Linked DNA regions of Homo sapiens: region 1 is linked to region 2. The links are contacts of gene promoters, found by promoter capture Hi-C in blood cells and fetal thymus (Javierre and others, 2016). All regions are on one chromosome and are shown on one strand. Each heading gives the region's core, a stretch centred on a gene start or on the middle of the fragment in contact. The rest is flanking DNA. Distances are from core to core; before and after follow the strand shown.

Evidence for each region. The method cuts DNA at HindIII sites, captures the fragments that hold promoters and counts their contacts. A CHiCAGO score of 5 or more calls a contact.
Region 1: a fragment that was not itself captured here is called in contact with the fragment with the promoter of POU5F1B in region 2 in 1 of 17 cell types (M0 macrophages); the score reaches 8.1 in M0 macrophages.

Annotation. Positions count from the first base shown.
Region 1 is chr8:129,686,665-129,692,251 of GRCh38, reverse strand. No RefSeq gene overlaps it. Among named protein-coding and RNA genes, the nearest start is that of CCDC26, 9.2 kb to the right of the region's middle. RefSeq lists enhancers at 1-827, 1,680-3,892 and a cis regulatory region at 2,558-2,892. The HindIII fragment of the contact is 1,486 bases long and covers 2,528-4,013 here.
Region 2 is chr8:127,414,553-127,419,620 of GRCh38, reverse strand. It overlaps POU5F1B (POU class 5 homeobox 1B), which reads right to left and starts at 3,754. Exons shown (of 1, transcript NM_001159542.3): 1 at 2,675-3,754. The coding sequence starts at 3,754. The coding sequence ends at 2,675. The region is part of intron 5 of CASC8 (cancer susceptibility 8); the gene reads left to right. The HindIII fragment of the contact is 3,513 bases long and covers 3,647-5,068 here.

The sequences.
Region 1 (5,587 bases), core at 2,021-4,520, 2.3 Mb before region 2:
GAGATGAGTTATAGCAGTTGGTTCATTCCACAAATCAGCGATACATGCTTCATGTCTTCAGAGGCCATCCATGGTGTTGGCCACTGTGGGGATGTCAAGTTGTAAAGACCTGGACCCTTTCCTTAAGGAGCTGAACTTGCCAAAACACAAATGTGCTCAAATAACATAATGAAACGCAAAATGAACACAGGACTAGAAACTGTGAGCTCTGGATTTTAGTCTCGCTCTGGTATTGATCTCCATGGTGTTTTGGGGCCTTGAATATTTCCTTACCTGTGAGATGGTGAGGTTAGGTCTGCCTTCCTGTCCCAGGGAAAAGGCAAAGGCAGTGTCCATCTCTAGCCTATTCCTTCTTGGTTGTATGATCATGAGAAGTCATTTCATCACACTGGAGCTCAAGTCCTCATTTTTAATGTGGGGGGAGTAAAAGCTTGTCCCACGGAGTGTGAGGATGATCTAAAACAGCTGCAGGAGAGTACAGAGCATGCTACCTGGAAGAGAGTCAGCCTCTAACAAATGCTCATTCTTTGTCCCACACTCCCATGGCTCTGTTTTTTCTTGGAAGGGGTGAATGGAATCAAGGATGGTAATACATATGAAATCTCGTTAAAATAGGAAGTGCCCTCCATAAATGCCAGGGGAATCCCATGTAGATTTCTACATAGGAGAGTCTGGGGGGGCTCTTAAGGCTGATCTCTGGGAGGATCTGTGCCTCTCCTAGTGTCCTGTCTTTCTTCTGGTTCTAAGTCTCTGGACAGGCCTTCCCCAGGAGGGCTCCTTGGTCAAAGGAACTCCTTTCCCAGAAGCATGCAGAAGGTGACAGGCACAAACACAAAGACAGACTGTCCTTGGCTTTCTGGAGCAGAGATAGCTTCAGACATTCTGCCTCACTCTTATGGGGACCTGTCAGCCCAGTTCTTGGGTCAGAAAATGGGTTCATGGTAGGTTAACCTAAGCCACAACCAGTAACGACTACTTTTCTCTAATGGTTCATCAAAGCCTTTTGACCCTTCCTTCTCCATTGCTCTACCATCCACCTCCACTGTTCCAGCCTTCCTGCAGCTCCCACGTACTGCATGCCTTCGTCACTTCCTGCTTTGCCTCTGGCGCTAGCGTCCGACTGTTCTTCCCTTCTTCCAGTCCACCTTTCTCACCACAACTAAAAGAACGTTTCTGCTTTGATCACATGATTGCCGTGGAAGTGAAACATGCAGAGAACCCCAAGGGGTGAGGAGGCTGCAGCCCTTTATTTGGCTGGACTTTGTCTTGAGAGCTTCTCTGCCCTTGCTTTGCTTTGTTTATATAGAAACAGGTATTTCGTTATAATTCCTTTTTTTTTCTGCAGAAAGATTAAGTGCAAACACTTGGCATTCAAGGCAACCCCTCAGGGAATCCAGCTTTTCCAGCTTTCTATGACAAACTCCTTCAAGTACATTGTAGTGATTAAGGGCATGGACTTTCAATCCTGACTATGTTCAAGTCTTACCTCTGCTGCCTATCAGCTATGTGATCTTGGGCAAGTTACTTAACCTCTCTATGCTTTGACTTCCTTATCCATACTTTGGGAATAATAATACTCCATACCTCACAGGGTTATTGTGAGGGTTAAATGAGATTATCTATATAAAGTTCTTAGAACTTTGCTTAGCACAGTAAGTACTCAATAAGTTCTATCCATTCCAGAAACCTCCACCCTAGCTAAATTCATCTCTGTTAACAGCCGCACATGTGCTTTTGACTTTCCTGCCTCTGTGATTTCAGCTGCTCCTTTCACCTGCCTGCAATGATCCCTCTCTTTCCTTTTGGCTTTATCCAAGCTCTCCTTGTCCTCTATTGCTAAGGAAACTCAAGCAATTTCTCAGGACCTCTATGGCTAAGGAAACTCAGGTAATTGTTCAGGAGAACGAGACAGAACTCACCCTGGTTCCTACAGCTGAGTTACTGTGGGAGGTCACCTGGCTTCTCCACATTTCAGCCTTCCCCTTGGTGAAGTGCAGATACTTAACACAGACCTTGTGAAGTCATTGAAAGAAAAATTCTCAAATTCTGGCAGATAGTAGGTATTTAATGAATGATAGATATTATTAAGCCAAGCTAGTCCTTCCTACCTGAACTTTTCCCTCTGAACTCTTCTAGTAATTATTGATTCCATCATTTATCTGGTCATTCATTGACCATGTAGTACTTTGTATCACCTCATCTTTTCTTTCTTTTTGTCCTGCTTGGAATGATTACTGTAATCTTATGACTGCTTAGTTTTTTAAACATGCATAGTATCCTCCTCACTGCATTGGGGTTTCCTGGCGGGAAGACCCTGCACAGACATTTGTAACGTGACCAGAGTTTTAATGTGCAATCCCTCCATGCTAGCAGCTTGGTGAGGTGCTTACATTTTGTAGGACTTCATAGGCTTTTTGCTGTGGTATGTCGGCCTGGTACAGCCCAGGGCTTTGAGGCTGCAGCTCTCTCTTAAGTGTTTATTTTTTGCACCTTTGCCTTTGGGCGATGGACTCCCCCACCTAAAGCTTTGGACTTTTCCTGGCTGCCTCATTGACCAGTTGTGAGGCTGACACCAGCCTGTGAGTCCAGAGCTGGGTCAGAGCAGATAAGGGCTTGTTCTCAGAACCAGCATGGTGATCACTGTGTGTCTTCTCCTTATTTTCTTCTCTGTGAAAACATGTGCCTCGTAATTTGTGTTCTGAGAAATATCTCAACGGTCCTGTGCCCTAAACATTTCCTCATCTGAGATAAGGCCTGGATGTTGGCTCTAAGGAGGGAAAAAGGTACAGTGGAGAGGAAGTTCTGATCAGCAGGAAGATTTCCCAAGCAACGACACCGCCTCTGGCAGCAATGGCCTAGAAACTGGGCTGCCTTGGTGCAGACCGAGACCAAGGCCATTCCCAAAGGAGAGGCTGACAGCATTGCCCAGGCATCCTCTTCCCTGCCAGGCATGGACCTTCTGAGGGATGTGGGGGCTACTGCACCTAGAGAGAGGCACTGGAGCCTGAGAAATCAGTGCTTTGAGGCCTCAGTGGTGGGGCTGGTGGCTGAGGCTGCTACTGGTGGAGTTGACGGGCCCTGGATAAGACCCAGAGTTCAAGATTCTGGTCTTGGCCATCAGTTCCTCACTGTGTGATCCTGGGCATGTCACTTAATCTCTTTGGAACCCAGTTTCTTGCCTAGAAAATAAGTATGTCTTATCAGTGGTTTTAAATTTTTAATTATTTAAAAAATCATCAGAATGCTTTAGAACTTTTTTTTCCAAAAAGAATTGTATGCATATTCCCAGTTGATACAACAGATAAAAAGAACAGTCCTGTATGGAGGAGTTTGGGCCACCAGGGGCCTGTGCCCAGGTCCTTCCTGTCATTCCATGCTGCCATGCCTGTTCTGTTCCCCGGGACATGTTCATGCAAACCTGGCTTCCCCAACACATTTTAAGCCCTCTGGACTAGCTTTGTCCCCAGCTTTGTGTTCTGGGCCTACCAGTCAGCTTGGCTGATTTTCCCCAGGTCAGTGGTGATGGGAGAGCAGTGCTGGTGTGCGGAGAGAGGGCAAATATTTCACCAAAGGACCAAGTCCCAGACAAATCAGAGAGGATGCTGGTCAGTGTGCATTGGTTGAATATCAGTACCAGTTTTGTGTCAGAATGAGCTGTGAAATTTTTAACAAATACACCCTTCAGGGTCTATCCAGCTTCACTTGAATCAAAATTTGGGGCTATTATTTTGAAAAATAGGAAATAGGTATGTGCAGCCCCTCCTCCTAACAAATAGGCAACCCCAAATCAAAATACTAAAACCTTGATTCTGGAGCTTTGGATGGGTGGGTGGTCTCCAGGAGGTATCGTCAGAATAAAAGGGGTCTTAAGTTAACTTGGAGCATGGCAAGGGCAAGAATAACACCAATAATATGATGAAGTACTTACTCTGGAATAGGTTCCATGCTTAACATACCATGAAATAGGTGGATACTAGTTTCCTAGGGCTGTTTTAACAAATGACCACAAAGCTTCATGGCTTAAAAAATCCCCCAGAAATTTTTTTGCTTAGAGTCCTGGAGGCCAGAGTACAAACTCAAGGTGCTGGCAGGGCCACACTCACTCTGATGGCTCTAGAGGGGACTTTGTCTTAGCCTCTTTCAGCTTAGGGAGGTTCCAGGCATTCTGTGGCTTGTGGCTGGATAACTCCTACCTCTACCTTCATCTTTCTTTGCGTGGACTTTTCTTCTTCTCCTGGTGTCTGTCTTTCTGCGGTCATAAGGACATTTGTCACTGGATTTAGAGACAACCTAGATAATATAGGATGATCTCATCTCAAGAACCTTTACATAATTACATCTGCCAAGACCTTTTTATCAAATATGGTCACGTTCAGAGGTCCTAAGGATTAAGATGTGGACACAGGTATTGAGTGAGGGACAGCATTTAACCCCAACTTGTTATTAACACCAACTTAAAGATGAGAAAGCCCAGGTCTAGTCCATGGAGGTAACCTGCCCATGGCCACACCGCTGGTGAGTGGCAGAGCTGGGCTGGGACTCACCCTCAGGTCTGCTTTATGCTTGTCTTCTACAGAGCCTGTCACACAGACGTCCAGGGAGTATGTGGACCAGGCAGATGCAGGACAATCATTGGTGCCAGCTTGCAAGACTCTGCCTTGCCTACAGAGGGTGCTCAATGCCTGTCTGTTAGAGAGGTAGTTCTTGATTCTGAGACCTTGACCAGGACTTCTAGGGCATAGTGAATTAATCTACCTGCCTCTATATCTTTAGGATAGTGCAGGAAATGTCGGATAAATGAAACTGAATGCCTGGAAGAAGATAATGTTCTCATATGTCCGTGGACCTTTATAGGGTCGATAGCTTATAGTTAGTGCATAGATGCTATGGAAAAAGGCTGTATGGGAAGACAGGGATTCCTCTGAGAGACCCAGGTCCATGCTTCCCTTCTTGCTCTAGCCACAATCTGCTTGAGGGACTTCAGATCCATCACCCTGCCTCGATTTCCTAGTATATAAAGTGAGGCTACTAATGGATTTCACAGGGTGTTTTCATGTTTTGTTGACATACAGGGATCGGTCTGAAGGCAAGGGGAAGTAAAAGATAGAATTTCCAAGCTCCTCCTAGCCCTAGGGTTTTAGAAAAAAAAAGTTAATCATATTTTGCACCAGCAGATGTAAGCACATATTGTAACTGTGAGAATAACATGAAATAGAGGACAATCATGCTCTTTTACTTGGATTAGGTCAAGAAACATTTTGCTTAAACTTCAATTAGAGAGATGGAAGTTAGACAAGAATCCCTTTGTGATGTCAGCAGATGTATTTCATGGGAATGGGGGATGAGACAGACTTCTCAGAGGAGAGTTTGGGAAGGAAGAGGACTGTGGGGTGCAGAGGGCGGGAACGAAGCCTGTTGAAACATTTTGACATAAGGAAGACTTTTCAAACCATTAAAGCTGTGAAACCCAGCAATAGGTGACTTGGAAATATGACAGGGCCTTGCAATCAACAAAACAGAGGCCAGATTCTGAAACCATTGTGTATTATTTGAAAGTCATTCTGCCTCATATATACCTATTTTTTTA
Region 2 (5,068 bases), core at 2,505-5,004:
TTATCATGAATGGGAGGAGTGGGTCTTTCCCAGTAAGTGATGAGAGATTGGCATCCTTGTGAGGCAGGCTTGGTGTAATAAAGAGGATCCAGGGTTCTAATCCCTCCTTTGCCTTTTACTTACAGTGTGACCTTGAGAAATTCCTTCTCTGTCTTTGAGACTTAGCTTCCTTATCTACAACATGCAAGGCTCACTGTGCCTGTCTTCCTGGGTAGATGTGGGGAGACAATGAAATACATATGCATAGAAGTCCAGGCATTTCCCTTCACACATGGCAGGCATTCAGAAAATCTTATCGAAAAATAAAAAATTTCTAAGGTCCAGTGGAGATCCTGACCTTTTGATTATACTAGAGCTAAAAATGAAGCTGATAAGGTGCCCCAGGTCCAAAAAAGTTCAGTCCTCCTAGGCAACAAAGTGTCCTTCTTATTCTAATTGATGCCCTTTTTATTTTAAGTGTGACTGAAACATTTTTCTAGGGTAAATTGAGTTCACAGGTGTCGAGTCTATTCCCTGTGATTCCTCAGTGGTAGGATGGGAGGAGAAAAAAAAAATCACATTGAAACATACCTTTTGCATAGAGCAATGTAAAAAACACACATCCAAAGATGCAAATGCCAAGAACAGAAGAGCCTCAATTTCTGGGAATCCTTTGGCTGGATTCTGTTACTTTTTCTATTTTTCCATGTGCGACATACGGCACCCTCCTTTTTCTGAGTATTTCTGGAATAACTTGTCATTTGGGGAGTCTGGGATCCAGAATCACTTGGGTTAGAGCAGAACAGTCATGAGTCTAAACTCCAGCCCTCTCTTTTACTTTGGAGAGTTACTTGACAAATCTTTTGCACCTATGGAATAAACATCATAGTCACTTATCTCAGAGTTTGCTTAAAGATTAGAAAAATAATATAAATGAAGTCCTTAATAGATGTGCTTAAGAAAGAATGTTCACTAGTGGTATCAATTATTGTTGGAAAGGCACAATTATCACATTTTCGATCTAGGAAAAAGTCTAAGGCAATGTAATCCATTGCTTTCATTTCATGTCTAAAGAAACTGAGGCTTAGGAAGGGAGTTAGGACTAATCAAAGGTCACCCCATTAGTTTGTAGAACCCAGGTTTCTTGATCTCCACTGGGATTTCCTAGCCATAGAAACACCATTGTATATAAAAGTGTCACCAATGAGCAAATAGCAGAAAGCCAAGCCATGAATAAATTTATGACAGTCTTCTAACTTAGATGCCATCTGCAGAAAACTGGAAATTTGGGCAAGTCTCCTAACTACCACTGGTATGCCTAATCATTAATCCCTGTTGGGTTTCAGAATGCCCTGGAGATTTTGTTGTCATTTGATTCATCAATCGGAAAATGAGTCTCAGTTTTTGGCGATGCAGTTTCATAGCAAATTTGGAAAGATGTGATTATTACCCTCTATTTCATGTCCTTCCAAGGAGCTGGTCCAGGGTAAATAGGTGCACATCTTTGAATCAAGAGTCATGAATAGGTGCATTATTACTGAGTGGACTTAAGTTCCTAATGTTCACTATGAATAATGAGTCTAATGTGAAATCTTAATGCATTTAAGGTAGATATGATGTTCTTTTAAAAATGAATTTTCAGGGCCGGGCGTGGTGGTTCACGCCTACAATCCCAATACTTTGGGAGGCCAAGGCAGGCAGATCACCTGAGGTCAAGAGTTCGAGACCAGCCTGGCCAACATGGTGAAACCCCATCTCTACTAAAAATACAAAAATTAGCCGGGCGTGGTAGTGGGCGCCTGTAATCCCAGCTACTCAGGAGGTTGAGGCAGGAGAATTACTTGAACCTGGGAGGCAGAGGTTGCAGTGAGCCGAGATCACACCACTGCACTCCAGCCTGAGCTATAAAGGAAGGCACTACCTCAAAAAAAGAAAAAAAATTATCCGGGCCAGGTGCAATGGCTCATGCCTGTAATCCCAGTACTTTGGGAGGCCCAGGCAGGAGGATCCCTTGAGCTCAGGAGTTTGAGACCAGCCTAGACAATATGGCAAAACCCCATCTCCACCAAAAATACAAAAATTAGCCAGTCTCATAACCTGGTCTCAAAATAAATAAGTAAATAAATAAAATTTTAAAAAATTAAATTAAAAAATGAATTATCTGTATCATGGGGAATGGTTAATGCTCACATTTTTGTGGAATATGTGAGGGAATGGTGAGGGCCGAACTATGCCGTTAGCGGTCAAAAGAGGTTTTGTATCAGGACAAATAGGATGTCTTGAAGAAAAACTACAGCTACCATCAAGTAGCACTCTAGGAAAAGGTAAAAAGGAGGAAAAAAGCAAGTATTTATTGAATACCTACTACGTGCCACACATTTTACCACACTTAAAAAATTATTACTCAATTATGTTACTTTTCTTTTCTTTCTTTTTTTTTTTTTTTTACTGTGTCCCAGGCTTCTTTATTTAAGAAAAAAGTGATACATGATGTGGGATTAAAATCAAGAGCATCATTGAACTTCACCTTCCCTCCAACCAGTTGCCCCAAACTCCCCTGCCCCCACCCTTAGTGTTCCCAATTCCTTCCTTAGTGAATGAAGAACTTAATCCCAAAAGCCCTGCCACAAACTCCAGGTTCTCTTTCCCTAGCTCCTCCCCTCCCCTGTTCCCCATTCCTAGAAGGGCAGGCACCTCAGTTTGAATGCATGGGAGAGCCCAGAGTGATGACGGAGACTGGGGGAAAGACTTCCCCCTCAGGGAAAGGGACTGAGGAGTACAGTGCAGTGAAGTGAGGGCTCCCATAGCCTGGGGTACCAAAATGGGGCCCTGGGGCCGGAGGAAAGGACACTGGTCCCCCTGAGAAAGGAGACCCAGCAGCCTCAAAATCCTCTCGTTGTGCATAGTCGCTGCTTGATCGCTTGCCCTTCTGGCGCCGGTTACAGAACCACACTCGGACCACATCCTTCTCGAGCCCAAGCTGCTGGGCGATGTGGCTGATCTGCAGTGTGGGTTTCGGGCACTGCAGGAACAAATTCTCCAGGTTGCCTCTCACTCGGTTCTCGATACTGGTTCGCTTTCTCTTTCGGGCCTGCATGAGGGTTTCTGCTTTGCATATCTCCTGAAGATTTTCATTGTTGTCAGCTTCCTCCACCCACTTCTGCAGCAAGGGCCGCAGCTTACACATGTTCTTGAAGCTAAGCTGCAGAGCCTCAAAGCGGCAGATGGTCTTTTGGCTGAACACCTTCCCAAATAGAACCCCCAGGATGAGCCCCACATCGGCCTGTGTATATCCCAGGGTGATCCTCTTCTGCTTCAGGAGCTTGGCAAATTGCTCGAGTTCTTTCTGCAGAGCTTTGATGTCCTGGGACTTCTCCGGGTTTTGCTCTAGCTTCTCCTTCTCCAGCTTCACGGCACCAGGGGGGACGGTGCAGGGTTCCGGGGAGGCCCCATTGGAGTTGCTCTCCACCCCGACTCCTGCTTCGCTCTCAGGCTGAGAGGTCTCCAAGCCGCCTTGGGGCACTAGCCCCACTCCAACCTGAGGCCCACAGTACGCCATCCCCCCACATAACTCATACGGCGGGGGGCAAGGGGGAATCCCCCACACCTCAGAGCCTGGCCCAACCCCCGGCCCGATTCCTGGCCCTCCAGGAGGGCCTTGGAAGCTTAGCCAGGTCAGAGGATCAACCCAGCCCGGCTCCGCCCCCCATGGCCCATCACCCCCACCGCCTGGAGGGGGCGAGAAGGCGAAATCCGAAGCCAGGTGTCCCGCCATGGGGAAGGAAGGCGCCCCAAGCCGGGGGCCTGGTGAAATGAGCAATTATGTTACTTTTCATTGAAAGCTCTGTGACCGTATGGCTGTGTGTGTCATACGCTCACTAGCAATGAACACAGTGCCTGAAGCATCATTAAATGTTGACTGAATGTGTTAGGAACTCTTCAAAAGTAATCTCTTTAAATCATAATCACCTGTGAATTGACAATTATTATCTTCACTTTGTGGATAAGAATGCCAAGATTTGGAAATGTTGAATAATGTGTCCATTGTGTCAGTGGCCGATCTGAAATTCCAGTGTAGGCACCATGATTCCTGAGTCCATTCTGCTTCTGCCATACCATGATGCTAGATTCTTCATGGGAGCCATCTACTTGTGTTCTGTGCTATGGAATGGTGTGTCCTTCTTTCTGATTCTTATTTCCTGCAGATTGTGGGGAAACGGTTCTACCATTAACAACCAAAGGCAAAATGGGCTGCAACCAAAGAAATTCCCTGACCTAATTCTTTATAGTTGGTGACAAGTGTGCTGTAGTGACGGGAAATAGCACTCTATGAAGATTTAATAGTGCAAATTCTACCCTCCTGACAACCCCTTTCTTCAGCACTGGATGGGTGTATTAGTTGTTTATCATTGTGTAATAGATCACCTCAAAACTTAATAGCTTAAAAACAACTAACACATAGCTCACAGTTTTGTAAAATAGCAATTGTGGTGTGGCTTAACTGGGTATCCTGGATAAGGGTATTTCATGAGGTTGTGGTCAAGATGAGAGCAGGGGATGTTGTCATCTGGGAGCCTAACGGGGGCTGGAGGATCCACTTTCCAAAATGTCTCACTTACTTGGCTGTTGGCAAAGGCCCCGGTTTCTTGTTGGCTGTTGGTAGGAGGCCTCAGTTGCTCACCATGTGGGCTTTTCCATAAAGCTGCTTGAGTGTCCTCACAACATGTCAGCTGGATTCACCCAGAGAGAATGACCTAAGAAAGAGAGAGCAGGGAAGAAGCCACTGCGTTCTTTATGACCTAGTCTCTGAAATCGCACACTTTTACTTGTGCCATATTTTATTCATTAGAAGTGAGTCACATTCTGTAGGAGGGTAATTAGCCTTCACCATTTGGCAGGAGGACTATCAAATAATTGGTGGGCATATTGTAAAGCTATCATAATGGTTCTGGTAGGCCATGTTTTTGCCTCTGCCACTCAAATATTGGATGTCCATTTCTTAAAGGGATTGTGAAAAGAGAAGGGGCTTTAGAATAAGACAGGCAAATGTTTAAACATTGAGTAAATTTTTAATGTCCTTAACCCTTGT